Regions from separate parts of the Homo sapiens genome. Here all the other regions are linked to region 3. The links are contacts of gene promoters, found by promoter capture Hi-C in blood cells and fetal thymus (Javierre and others, 2016). All regions are on one chromosome and are shown on one strand. The core of a region is centred on a gene start or on the middle of the fragment in contact, and the rest is flanking DNA. Distances in the headings are between cores, read along the strand shown. Region 1 has its middle 72 kb from the start of MAPKAPK5-AS1. Region 2 overlaps MAPKAPK5 (MAPK activated protein kinase 5). Region 3 holds the start of NAA25 (N-alpha-acetyltransferase 25, NatB auxiliary subunit).

Region 1 (3,907 bases), core at 693-3,192, 190 kb before region 3:
GAAAGGGGCACAAAAGTATCACTGAAGTATTTTTTCAAAAAAGAAAAAAGGCAGTCTTCCTCTACTAATGAGAATGCAAAATGTTGAACAACTGTAAAATGTTTTCACCCTGCTTTTAGACATAAAGCTTTAAAAAACTGTGAGGTCTTTTATCACTTCCCCATTGTATATGTAATATGGCTCCAGATAATTACTCTGCCACGGGGAGAAAATCTTCCATAACTCTCCCCTATATATATGTATACTCCACCACCTTATCTTGTTATGTCATGGTGGTGGGAGTATTTATACCACAGAAACAGGCAAATGATACAAATCTGGGCTTCAGGCTAGGCGTGGTGGCACACCCCTGTAATCCCAGTATTTTGGGAGGCTGAGGGGCAGATCGCTTGAATCCAGGAGTTCAAGCTCAGCTTCGATAACATGGTAAAATATAATATAAAAATATAAAAATATAAAAATTACCCAGGCATGGTGGCTTGCGCCTGTAGTCTCAGCTACTCGGGAAGCTGAGGTGGGAGAATCAGTGAGCCCAGGCCAAGTCAAGGCTATAGTGAGCTGTGATGGTGCCACTGCACTCCAGCCTGGGTTACAGAGTGTGACCCTGTCTCAAAAAAAAAAAAAAAAAAAAAAAAAGACCCAACAAACTAATCTGACCTCAGTTCATTTGTTTATTTTCCTATTGACTTCATTCTTTAAATTTAAACATTTACTTTTAAGAAATATTTATATGCTAGGAACTAAATGGTTAAAGATAAAAAACACAGATTCTGGATGTAGAGAAATTAGAACCCACATGCACTGCTGGTGTGAATGTAAAATGGTGCAGCCACTTTGAATCAAAGCTTGGTAGTTTCTTAAAATGCTAAATAAATGCAGAGTTATCCTATGACCTAGCACTTCCACTCATATATGCATAATATACCCAAGAAATACAAAAACATATCCATACAAAAACTTGTACATGAGTATTTATAGCATGTTACTTATACATTAAATGAAAACAATCCAAATGTCTATCATTAACTAAAATGTAGTATATCCATATAATGGACCACTATTCAGCAATAAAAAAGGAATGAGCTGAGCTGGGCACAATCGCTCACGCCTGTAATCCCAGCATTTTGATAGGTCAAGGTGGGAGAACTGCTTGAAGCCAGGAGTTCCAGACCAGCCTGGGCAACATAGTGATACTCTGTCTCTAAAAAAAAATTTAAACTTAACAGTTTGTGGTGGCATGCACCTGTGGTCCCAGCTACTCAGGAGGCTGAGGCAGGAGAATCTCCATTTTTTTTTTTTTTTTTTGAGATGGAGTCTTGCTCTGTCGCCTAGGCTGGATGGAGTGCAATGACAAGATCTCAGCTCATTGCAACCTCTGCCTCCCAGGTTCAAGGGATTCTCCTGCCTCAGCCTCCCAAATAGCTGGGATTACAGATGTGCACCACCACGCCCAGCTAATTTTTGTATTTTTAGTAGAGACGGGGTTTCACCATGTTGGCCAGGCTGGTCTGGAACTCCTGAGGTCAAGTGATCCACCTGCCTTGGCCTCCCAAAGTGCTGGGATTACAGGCATGAGCCACTGTGCCCGACCAGGAGAATCTCTTGAGCCCAGGAGTTTGAGGCTGCAGTGAGCCATGACTGCACCACTGCACTCCAGCCTGGGCGACAGAGTGAAACCCCAACAATTTTTTTTTTTTTTTTTGAGACAGTCTTGCTCTGTCACCCAGGCTGGAGTGCAGTGGTATGATCTCAGCTCACTGCAAGCTCCGCCTCCCGGGTTCACAACATTCTCCTGCCTCAGCCTCCCTGGTAGCTGGGACTACAGGTGCCCGCCACCACGTCTGGCTAATTTTGTTTTTGTATTTTTAGTAGAGATGGGGTTTCACCGTGTTAGCCAGGATGGTCTCGATCTCCTGACCTTGTGATCTGCCTGCCTTGGCCTCCCAAAGTGGTAGAATTACAGGCGTGAGCCACCACGCCCGGCCAACCCTAACTCTTAAAAAAAAAAAAAAAAAGGAATGAAATACTAACACCTGCTACAATGTGGATGAACTTTAAGAATATCATGCTAAATTGGCCAGGCACGGTGGCTCATGCCTGTAATCCCAGCACTTTGGGAGGCTGAGGTGGGCAGACCATGAGGTCAGGAGATCGAGACCATCCTGGCTAACATGACGAAACCCCGTCTCTACTAAAAATACAAAAAATTAGCTGGGTGTGGTGGCAGGCGCCTGTAGTCCCAGCTACTCCTGAGGCTGAGGCAGGAGAATGGTGTGAACTCGGGAGGCGGGGCTTGCAGTGAGCTGAGATAGCGCCACTGCACTCCAGCCTGGGTGACAGAGCGAGACTCCGTCTCAAAAAAAAAAAAAAAGATTATGCTAAATTTAAAAAGTGCAAAAACTCTATTTAAGGGTTTCCTGTGTTCCATTGATCTATGTGTGTATCTCATCAGCAATACCGCATACTATTGAAACAGAAAAGAGTGATTTCTCCAAGTTATTATTTTCCAAAATTGTTTTAGCTAGTCTTGTTCCTTTGTCTTTTAGAAAATTTATATTGTAAAATATAAATTTTAAAATTTTCTTGTCTGTATCTACAAAGAATCTTGTTCGGATTGTGATATGAATTGGGTTAAGTCTATGTATCAGTTTGAGGAGAACTGGTATCTTTATTACGTTGTGTCTTCCAATTTGTAAACATAGCAAATCTCTATTTATTTACATCTTTGATTTCTTTCATCAGTGTCTTGTGGTTTTCATTTAATAGGTCCTGTACATATTTTGTTAAATTTACATCTAAATATTTCATTTTTTGAGTGATTTTAAATTGTATTTTTATTTTGATTAAATTGTTCATTGCTAGTATACAGAAATATAATTGATTTTTATATGTTGCTACTGTATCCTGCAAGGGGGAAGATTCAGTCTTTCACCATTAAGTAAAACATTAACTATAGGCTTTTTGTAGATGTTCTTATTACATTGAGGTAGTTTTCACTCTCTACCTAGTTTTCTGGGAGTTTTTATCATGAATGGATGTAAAGCTTAGCCAAATGCTTTTTTCTGCACCAATTGATATGATCATGGGATTTTTCTTATTTAGCCTGCTAACATGGTGAATTCAATGTTTGATTTTCAAACATAAACCAATCCTGCATCCCTGGAAAAAACAAAACTTGGTCATGGTGTATAATTCTTTTTTTCACATTGCTGAATTTTATTTGCTAATATTTGGTTAAATTTTTTTTGCATCTATATTCATGAAGGATATTGGTCTGTAGTTTTCTTTTTTTGTACTGTCTTTCTCTGGTTTTGGTATCAGGGTGATGCTGGCCTCATAAAATGAATCGGATAGGGTTCCCTTTCCTTCTCTTTTATTTTTCTAGAAGAGATTGTGTAGAATTAGTGTTAATTTATTTTTAAAGGTTTGTTATAATTCTCCAGTGAAACCATCTGGGCCTGATTATTTTTCTTGGGAGATGTGAAGTTATAAATTCAATTTTCTTTTTTCTTTCTTTTTTTTTTGAGATGGAGTTTTCCCAGGCTGGAGTGCAATGGCATGATGTCGGCTCACCGCAACCTCCACCTCCTGGGTTCAAGCGATTCTCCTGCCTCAGCCTCCCAAGTAGCTGGGATTACAGGCACGTGCCACCATGCCTGGCTAATTTTGTATTTTTAGTAGAGACAGGGTTTCTCCATGTTGGTCAGGCTGGTCTCAAACTCCCAACCTCAGGTGATCCGCCCGCCTCAGCCTCCCAAAGTGCTGGGATCACAGGCATGAGCTACCGTGCCTGGCGAAATTCAATTTTCTTAATAGCTATAAAGATATTCAACTTATCTAGTTCACATTGGGTGAGATGTAGTAGTTTGTGCTTTTTGAGAAATTGGTCCATTTATCTAAGGTATCA
Region 2 (4,023 bases), core at 1,270-3,769, 240 kb before region 3:
AATGAAATTGACAGAATATATCTGTACACAAAATGGTGGTGTTGGAAATTAGATGTTTACTATGATATTGATTAGTTACTATTTTTTTTGAACTTTTAAGTCTCAGTTTATTCAGTTATTCCAATAATGTAATCAACTTGTTCAGGGATATAGGCCTCTACAGCTTGGCAGCATATATCTGACTAGTCTTTCTAGAATCTCATAAAATATACTTGACCATTGTAGCAAAGAGGCATTTAGTAATTGATGCATTTTGAAAGAGTATCTTCCTCTCAGAACCCCCCAAAAGCATTGATTGTCTATGGAAATGTACCTTATAGATGAGCTGAATAATTTCCTTTTATCGTGAAGTCTTTGCTTTCTTGTTGGAAAATTGGGAAACAATGTCTGAGTCATTGTCATTTAGACAAAATGTCATAAAGCCCTGTAGAACACAAAGTTCTGCTTATCAGATTCTCTTAGAAGATGAGCTGTTGAGTGACAGGTCTTCTGTTGTCCCATCTCTGCTTATTCAGTTTGTTAACTGAGGAATCATTCTCTGTCCTCTCCCTTTTTTTATATTAATAGGAAACTTCCATTTTAGAAGAATACAGTATCAATTGGACTCAGAAGCTGGGAGCTGGAATTAGTGGTCCAGTTAGGTAAGAGATCCATATGAGAAACTATGGCAAATTGTTGGCATGTGCAAACTCTGAGAAGGGCCATTTGAAATACATCTTGAATTAGACACATCAGGTGTGCCAGATTTGAGGAATAGGCTGAATTTAACAAGTACAGGTTTTTATGTTAGGCTTTTTCTCATGTATTTAGGAATTAGTTAAGAGTGACTGAGTCGCATGGTCTTTTTATAGAGTCATTTAAGATGTCGAGACTGGCCAGGCGCGGTGGCTCATGCCTGTTATCCCAGAACTTTGGGAGGCTGAGGCAGGCGGATCATGAGGTCAGGAGATGGAGACCATCCTGGCCAACATGGTGAAACCCCGTCTCTCCTAAAGATACAAAAATTAGCCAGGTGTGGTGGTGGGTGCCTGTAATCCCAGCTACTCGGGAGGCTGAGGCAGGAGAATCACTTGAACCAGGGAGGCAGAGATTGCAGTGAGCTGAGATCATGCCACTGCACTCCAGCCTGGCCACAGAGCGAGATTCTGTCTCAAAAAAAAAAAAAAAAAAAAAAAAGGGTGTCGAGACTGTGGGGCCACTGTGAGAGTCACCTATAGCCAGCTGAGGCCATTATTTTTTCATTGACCCACAGCCCCAAAAGCATGGCTTAGAAGCTGAGGCCTGAGCATTGGCTGCTGGGCAGAGGGGTGAGATGCTTCTTTCCCCCACCTGCTACCCTTGGGGGCAAGTTTGTTCTGGATGCACCTGGCCATATCCTTGATGAGAAGTACAAATCTCAAAGAAAAAGCTTGTTAAATTAATTTTCATTCTAACATATATGATCTCTGATTGATTTTTTTTCTCCAAATCTAGAGTCTGTGTAAAGAAATCTACTCAAGAACGGTTTGCGCTGAAAATTCTTCTTGATCGTCCAAAAGCTAGAAATGAGGTATGCTTTATTGCCTCGACTTAATTAAATAGTTGAAGTGCCTAAGAATTGTTCTTTTGCAAGTAAGGCAGCTTCCTAGAGAGAATACAGTGATGCATAAAAAGTTTTATGTCCAAACTTTACCTCTCTTCCCCATTCATGCTATCTTAGTAAAGTAGTCCTAGATCTGTCAATATCAAAGGCCATTGAGTCATTTCCTTTCAGCCACCTCTTGTTCTTTTAAAATTAATGTGATTCTTGTACCCTCATGTATTCAGATTTACCTCAGTTTTGCTTATTGAAGAAGGTACTTAAAGGTGGAGATAAAATAGCACAAGGAAGAGTCAGGTGAATGGTGTATAAAAGTGATGCTACAGGAGGACTCTGAGGATGTTTCTAGTTTGTTTCTTCTTTTTGAGACAGAGTTTCACTCTTGTTGCCCAGGCTGGAGTGCGATGGCGCAATCTCGGCTTACGGCAACCTCCGCCTCCCGGGTTCAAGTGATTCTCCTGCCTCAGCCTCCCGAATAGCTGGGATTACAGGCATGCGCCACCACGCATCTTGTATTTTTAGTAGAGACAGGGTTTCTCCATGTTGATCAGGTTGGCCTTGAACTCCTGACCTCAGGTGATCCATCCGCCTCGGCCTCTCAAAGTGCTGGGATTACAGGCGTGAGCCACTGTGCCCGGCCTTTAGTTTTTAAAAATATACATTGGGTTTGTTTTTGTTTCTGTTTGAAACCGAGTCTTGCTCTGTCACCCAGGCTGGAATGCAGTGGCACGATCATGGCTCACTGCAGCCTTGACCTCCTTAAGCTCAAGTGATCCTTCTACCTCAGCCTCCTGAGTAGCTGGGACCACAGGCATTTGCCACCATGCCTGGCTAATTTTGTTTGTATTTTTTGTAGACATGGGGTTTTGCATGTTGCCCAGGCTGGTCTCAAACTCCTGGGCTCAAGTGATCCACTTTGGCCTCCCAAAGTGTTGGGATTACAGGTGTGAGCCACTGCCCCTGGTTATACATTGGTTTTAAACTATCTGGATATGGTAATGACATTCTAATAACATGTGCAATGAAGGACTTCTTTTGCATAAAGAAATGCAAATAATTTCTAAAATGAAATGAATTGTTTGCCAGATTTTCATTTGCAAATAAATGGAACAGTAGGAAGTAAATCTGTTGGTGAGTTTTTATTCATGGAAAAAGCATTAAGGAGATAATCTTTGAAAACACTGGGTTTTTACATCATTCTAAGTGATAAAGTTTTTATTGTAATTAGCTTGTACCTAGTATGGTCAGTTTTTGGAGAGAAAATGTTGGTATCCCCTACCTATTGATACATTTCCTCTGTTCTCTTTAAGGTACGTCTGCACATGATGTGTGCCACACACCCAAACATAGTTCAGATTATTGAAGTGTTTGCTAACAGTGTCCAGTTTCCCCATGAGTCCAGCCCTAGGTAAGACTACACAGTGTCATCATCAAATGCCCACATGTAGGCCAATGTGTAGTGGAGCTGTCCTCTCTTTTATGTGCTCCCTCCCCTTCCCTCTCCTTCTTCCTCCTACCCTCGCTTCCTCTGCCCTTCCTTCTCCCCCTCCATCTCCCTTTTTGTAATTTGGAAAATGTCAAGCATTTGTAAAAGCAGACAGAATTATGTAATGAATCCTCAAGTTCTCATGATCCATCCTCAACAGTAATCCTCTTGTGGCCAGTCTAATTTCATCTATGCCCCTACCACTCTTCACATCCCCTGATGATTCTGATTACTTTCTCATTTCAAGAAAGCATTTAATGTAGAATTTAAACAGATTCTATTTCAAATCAGTGAAAGGGGCCCAAATATTATTCTAGGCAGAGTCTTAGAGGCTGATAAAACAAAAAGCCTTTATTATTGCTTAGTCTAACTTTCCTTTTAAAGAAAGAAATCAACATTATTCTTTTAGTTACCAAATGTTTGGCAAGCATATTGGGTGGCATTCTAAGTCTCTTTGTTAAAATTCAAAATTAAATAAGGTATGGTTTTTTTGGGGAAGACTGAGATGTAAACCCATCATCATAGCAGTGCAATAGGCACTAAGGACAGGCATCCCTAAAATATTCTAAGCTTACAAAGGAGAGGAGCTGCTAACTATAGTCTGGGAGGAGAGGTGTCTCACAAAGGCTGTGTGGAAGCTAGGACTTGAAGGAAGGGTAGGAATTTTCCAGATGGAAAAAGAAGATAGAATTTTAAAAACAAATGGGAAATCAAACAAATGGGAAAAAAACGCTTATTTTTCACAACTGTGCTCTGTTGGTGAAAGCATTTGGATGGAAGCTGGAAGCATATATGAAAGAATGGTAGCCAAAAATCACATTAAAATTTTTTTTTTCAGAACATGAGAATTTTTGCTCTTAGTAACTGTGTTACCCTGGACTTAGGAAGTTGTTACACACTTTGTAGATGCAGTATCTTTAGGTCAGCTTCTTAATGTTTCAGGGTTTTTTGTTTCTTT
Region 3 (3,915 bases), core at 53-2,552:
TAAAAGGCCAAGGCCAGTGACTGTCATAATGAGTCATCTATAAACCTTAGCTATAGGATTGTTGCTAAAATCAAATGAGATGTGAGAGTAAAAAAAAAAATCACACAAATTATGAAATAAAAGCCGGACTAACTGTGGCCAGAAACAAAGTTAACCACCGCCCCCCGCTCCCAAAACGATTCCCACCTTGGAGAGAAGCCTCCAATTTAGTAACATCCACATGAGGTCTATAAATACGATGTCTACTTTTGTAAAAACCACTGACCTTGAAGCTTCCTCACCATTAAGTGAGATAGACCAAGACCATAAAACCATCTAAGAGGAAAGGAAATGCAAAAAGGACCAATCCAATTACACATTTCGGTTATTGGAAAAGGGTTTCTCCCAAACTCAAAATCTGTGATTTTTCACTACCAGGGTAAATGGATGAGATGACATCAAGGTCTTCAAGTCTGCGGGTTGAGGTAAGAGTTGTGGAGAGGGATCTGCTTAGCACAGGGAAGGAAAGCTGCAGAGAAAACCACAGAGAAGCTGCAGAAAGGAGAAGCCCTCCAGTAGCTCTGCATGCCCCTCTGACACGAGCTATCACAATCTCTTCACCGCTATTTTAGGCCCAAGACCCCCTCCCCCCGCCTCCCACGTGTGACCAGAGTAGCTGCTTCTCCACCCAACAGCTCTGGATTGGGAGCCTGGAATCTCGGGCCTGCTCCTGACTCGATCTGGGTGACCTTGCGTCAGCCCCTTCCCCACTCCGGACCTCAGTTTCTCCTATGCACCGAAGCCCACCTAGTCAGACAACCCTCTAGGCCCAATTCCCGTAAATAAAAAAAAATCTCTGGTAGGGAATCTTCCCTCAGGCAGGGCGTCCCACCCTCGTGCCGGAGCCGGCTTCCACCTTCGGGGAGATCTCCGGTCTCCCTAGGAGCGGCGGTAACGATGCAGCCTGCGGGTAGCGCAGGTGTCTGCAGAACCACGCGTCCCACGGGGCCTGCCAAGCAGGCCAGCTCTGCCGACCAGCTGCTGCCCAGACCGCGCCACTACCACCCCAAGGCTGAGGAAGGTTGGGCCGGCGCCTACGCGAGGCCCGCGGCTGCGGCCTAGTGGCCCGCGCGGCCCGCCCCCCTGCGCCTGCCCGGCCCGCGCGCCGGCCCTCAGCACCCCTCCTGGGCTTTCGCCCCAGCCTCGGCAGCCCTCGGCGCGTCGGGCTGGCGAGCGGGCTGGTCCAAGACACTCACCGTAAATGGGCCGGAGGCGCCTGTCGTTAGGGTCCTGCACATGGCCCCGCGTCGCCATGATGACAAGCGCAGAACCACAGTGCGCACGCGCGGGGCAGGACCCCGGGAAAGGGCTATTAAAGGGCCAGCGTCGATCTCGCTTGTCTATCACGATAGTCGCGGTGCTGCGACTGAACGCGCCTGCGCGGAAAGGGAAGCATCCACCCTTGCCGATTGCCACCTCTTTAAACGCTGTTCCTTCACTTAGCAGGTGGGATCAAGCTGGCAAGAGGAGGCAGCTGTTGCTGTTAAAGTCTTCCGAGTCACTGACTGGGAAGTTAGGAGAGGAGGGGAGAAAGCTCTCAAAGTTAGGGTTCGGCTGCTCCTGTTTATCCTATTTATTCTCCGTCCTGAAGAACCAGCTAGACTTGGCTGTGATTAATCGCAGAGGAACCAGAAACTCCCGGGGGAGAGAGACCCAGGGGAAAGTTGGGGAAGCGGGGCTGATCAACAGCAAAAATCTGCCAAAAAAGTTCGAGAGAGCCGGGCGCTGTGGCTCAGCCTGTAATCCCAGCACTTTGGGAGGCCGAGGCGGGCGGATCACAAGGTCAGGAGATCGAGACCATCCTGGCTAACACGGTGAAACCCCATCTCTACTAAAAATACAAAAAAAGTTAGCGGGGCGTAGTGGCGGGCGCCTGTAGTCCCAGCTACTCATGAGGCTGAGGCAGGAGAATGGCGTGAACCCAGGAGGCGGAGCTTGCAGTAAGCCGAGATCGCGCCACTGCACCCCAGCCTGGGCGACAGAGCGAGACTCCATCTCAAAAAAAAAAAAAAAAAAAGAAAAAAGTTCGAGAGCCCTCCACCACCTGTTCCTGGACCAAACTGAGCGTCAGGCTGCTGTTTCTCCTGGTTCAGTAAGGAGATGCAGATGAACTGGAGAGGAAGCGAGTTTTTATTTCTGCAACCAGTTACAGGGAGAAGGCCTGGAAATTATCACCAGACCAACTTAAAATTACAAAGCTTTCCAGAGCTTATATACCTTCTAAGCTATATGTCTACGTGTAAATGTGCATTCATCTAAAGACATAAGTGATTAACTCGCCGGGCGCGGTGGCTCATGCCTGTAATCCCAGCACTTTGGGAGGCCAAGGCGGGCGGATCACGAGGTCAGGAGATCGAGACCACGGTGAAACCCCATCTCTACTAAAAATACAAAAAATTAGCTGGGCGCAGTGACAGGCGCCTGTAGTCCCAGCTACTAGGGAGGCTGAGGCAGGAGAATGGCGTGAACCCGGAAGGCGGAGCTTGCAGTGAGCCGAGATCCCGGCACTGCACTCCAGCCTGGGCGAGGGAGGCTCCGTCTCAAAAAAAAAAAAATAATAATAATAATAATTGATTAACTCACTTTAGTCTATAACTAAGGTTTGAGTCCTGAAGACTTTCCTTTGAAGCCTCAGTAAATTTACTTAATCTAAATGGCAATAGGTGCTGGGGTGATTATCCTTATCTTGCCTCCTACTAAATCACGGAGGTTTGGGGAGTTACTTCAGACCCCCAATAAAATTTGTTTAATCCTAAATGGGTCCTGTTAGGAATTCTTTCGTTATTTTGTCATGCTTTAAGGCCAAGGAAAGGCCTAGGCAAAACTCTTGGTGGGCTTTTGTTACATTCCATCCTTTGTATAAGGGCACTGGCTTTTTTTTTTTAGCTTTTAATATGTAACTTAACCACTCAGTTAGTACTGAAACAGTTGTTATGGAGGCCTGTGTTAGTGAGACCTGGCCTGCCACACACCCTTCTCCCAGGACTCAGCCAACAAAGAAGCATCCTAGATGAATACTTACTCGGTATCTGCCTAGAGTATTTAAATGCAAGGTCTTTACATTTATTCTCTCATTTAATTTTCATAACTGTCATCGTATTTCCCTGGGAGGTAGATCTTATTATTACCTCTCTTTTTACAGATAGATTTATTCGTACAACACTGAGTTATTGAGTGCCTATTATTTGACACACTCTTGTTTTAGGCACAGAGGATACATCAATAAATAAAATAGACAGAGACTTAATGGAGTTTTTATTTGTAGTGAGGGAGACAGACAATAAATAAGTAGATAGCCTATTACATGGTGATAAATGCTACTGAGAAAAATAAAGCAGGAAAGGGGGGCAGTGAGAGAGGGAGGTAATTTTAAATAGTGTGGTAAGGCTGGCTTGGTGGCTCACCCCTGTAATCCCACCACTTTGGCAGGCCAAAGTGGGTGGATCACATGAGGTCAGGGGTTCAAGACAAGCCTGGCCAACATGATAAAACCCCTTCTCTGCTAAAAATACAAATATTAGCTGGGTGTGGTAGTGTGAGCCTGTAACCCCGGCTACTCAGGAGGCTGAGGCAGGAGAATCGCTTGAACCCGGTAGGCAAAGGTTGCAGTGAGCCAAGATCGTGCCATTGCACTCCAGCATGGGCAACAGAGCAAGACTCTTGCATAAATAAATAAATAGGCCGGGTGCAGTGGGTCGTGCCTGTAATCTCAGCACTTTGTGAGGCCGAGGCGGGTGGATCACCTGAGGTCAGGAGTTTGAGACCAGCCTGGGCAACGTGGCGAAACCCCATCTCTACTAAAAATACAAAAAATTAGTCAGGCGTGGTGGCACGTGCCTGTAATCCCAGCTACTCCCGAGGCTGAGGCTTGAACCC

What was found. Contacts are between HindIII fragments. The CHiCAGO score rates a contact against its expected background, and 5 or more counts as called.
Region 1: a contact is called between a fragment that was not itself captured here and the fragment with the promoter of NAA25 in region 3, in 3 of 17 cell types (activated CD4 T cells, endothelial precursors and erythroblasts). The highest score is 5.4, in activated CD4 T cells.
Region 2: a fragment that was not itself captured here is called in contact with the fragment with the promoter of NAA25 in region 3 in 1 of 17 cell types (activated CD4 T cells); the score reaches 6.1 in activated CD4 T cells.

What each region holds. Positions count from the first base shown.
Region 1 is chr12:111,912,945-111,916,851 of GRCh38, forward strand. No RefSeq gene overlaps it. Among named protein-coding and RNA genes, the nearest start is that of MAPKAPK5-AS1, 72 kb to the left of the region's middle. The HindIII fragment of the contact is 2,198 bases long and covers 844-3,041 here.
Region 2 is chr12:111,864,683-111,868,705 of GRCh38, forward strand. MAPKAPK5 (MAPK activated protein kinase 5) reads left to right here. Exons shown (of 14, transcript NM_003668.4): 2 at 568-641; 3 at 1,474-1,549; 4 at 2,890-2,987. Among named protein-coding and RNA genes, the nearest start is that of MAPKAPK5-AS1, 24 kb to the left of the region's middle. The HindIII fragment of the contact is 2,227 bases long and covers 1,407-3,633 here.
Region 3 is chr12:112,107,481-112,111,395 of GRCh38, forward strand. It overlaps NAA25 (N-alpha-acetyltransferase 25, NatB auxiliary subunit), which reads right to left and starts at 1,303. Exons shown (of 24, transcript NM_024953.4): 1 at 1,236-1,303. The coding sequence starts at 1,293. RefSeq lists silencers at 1,073-1,152, 1,173-1,252. The HindIII fragment of the contact is 1,965 bases long and covers 271-2,235 here.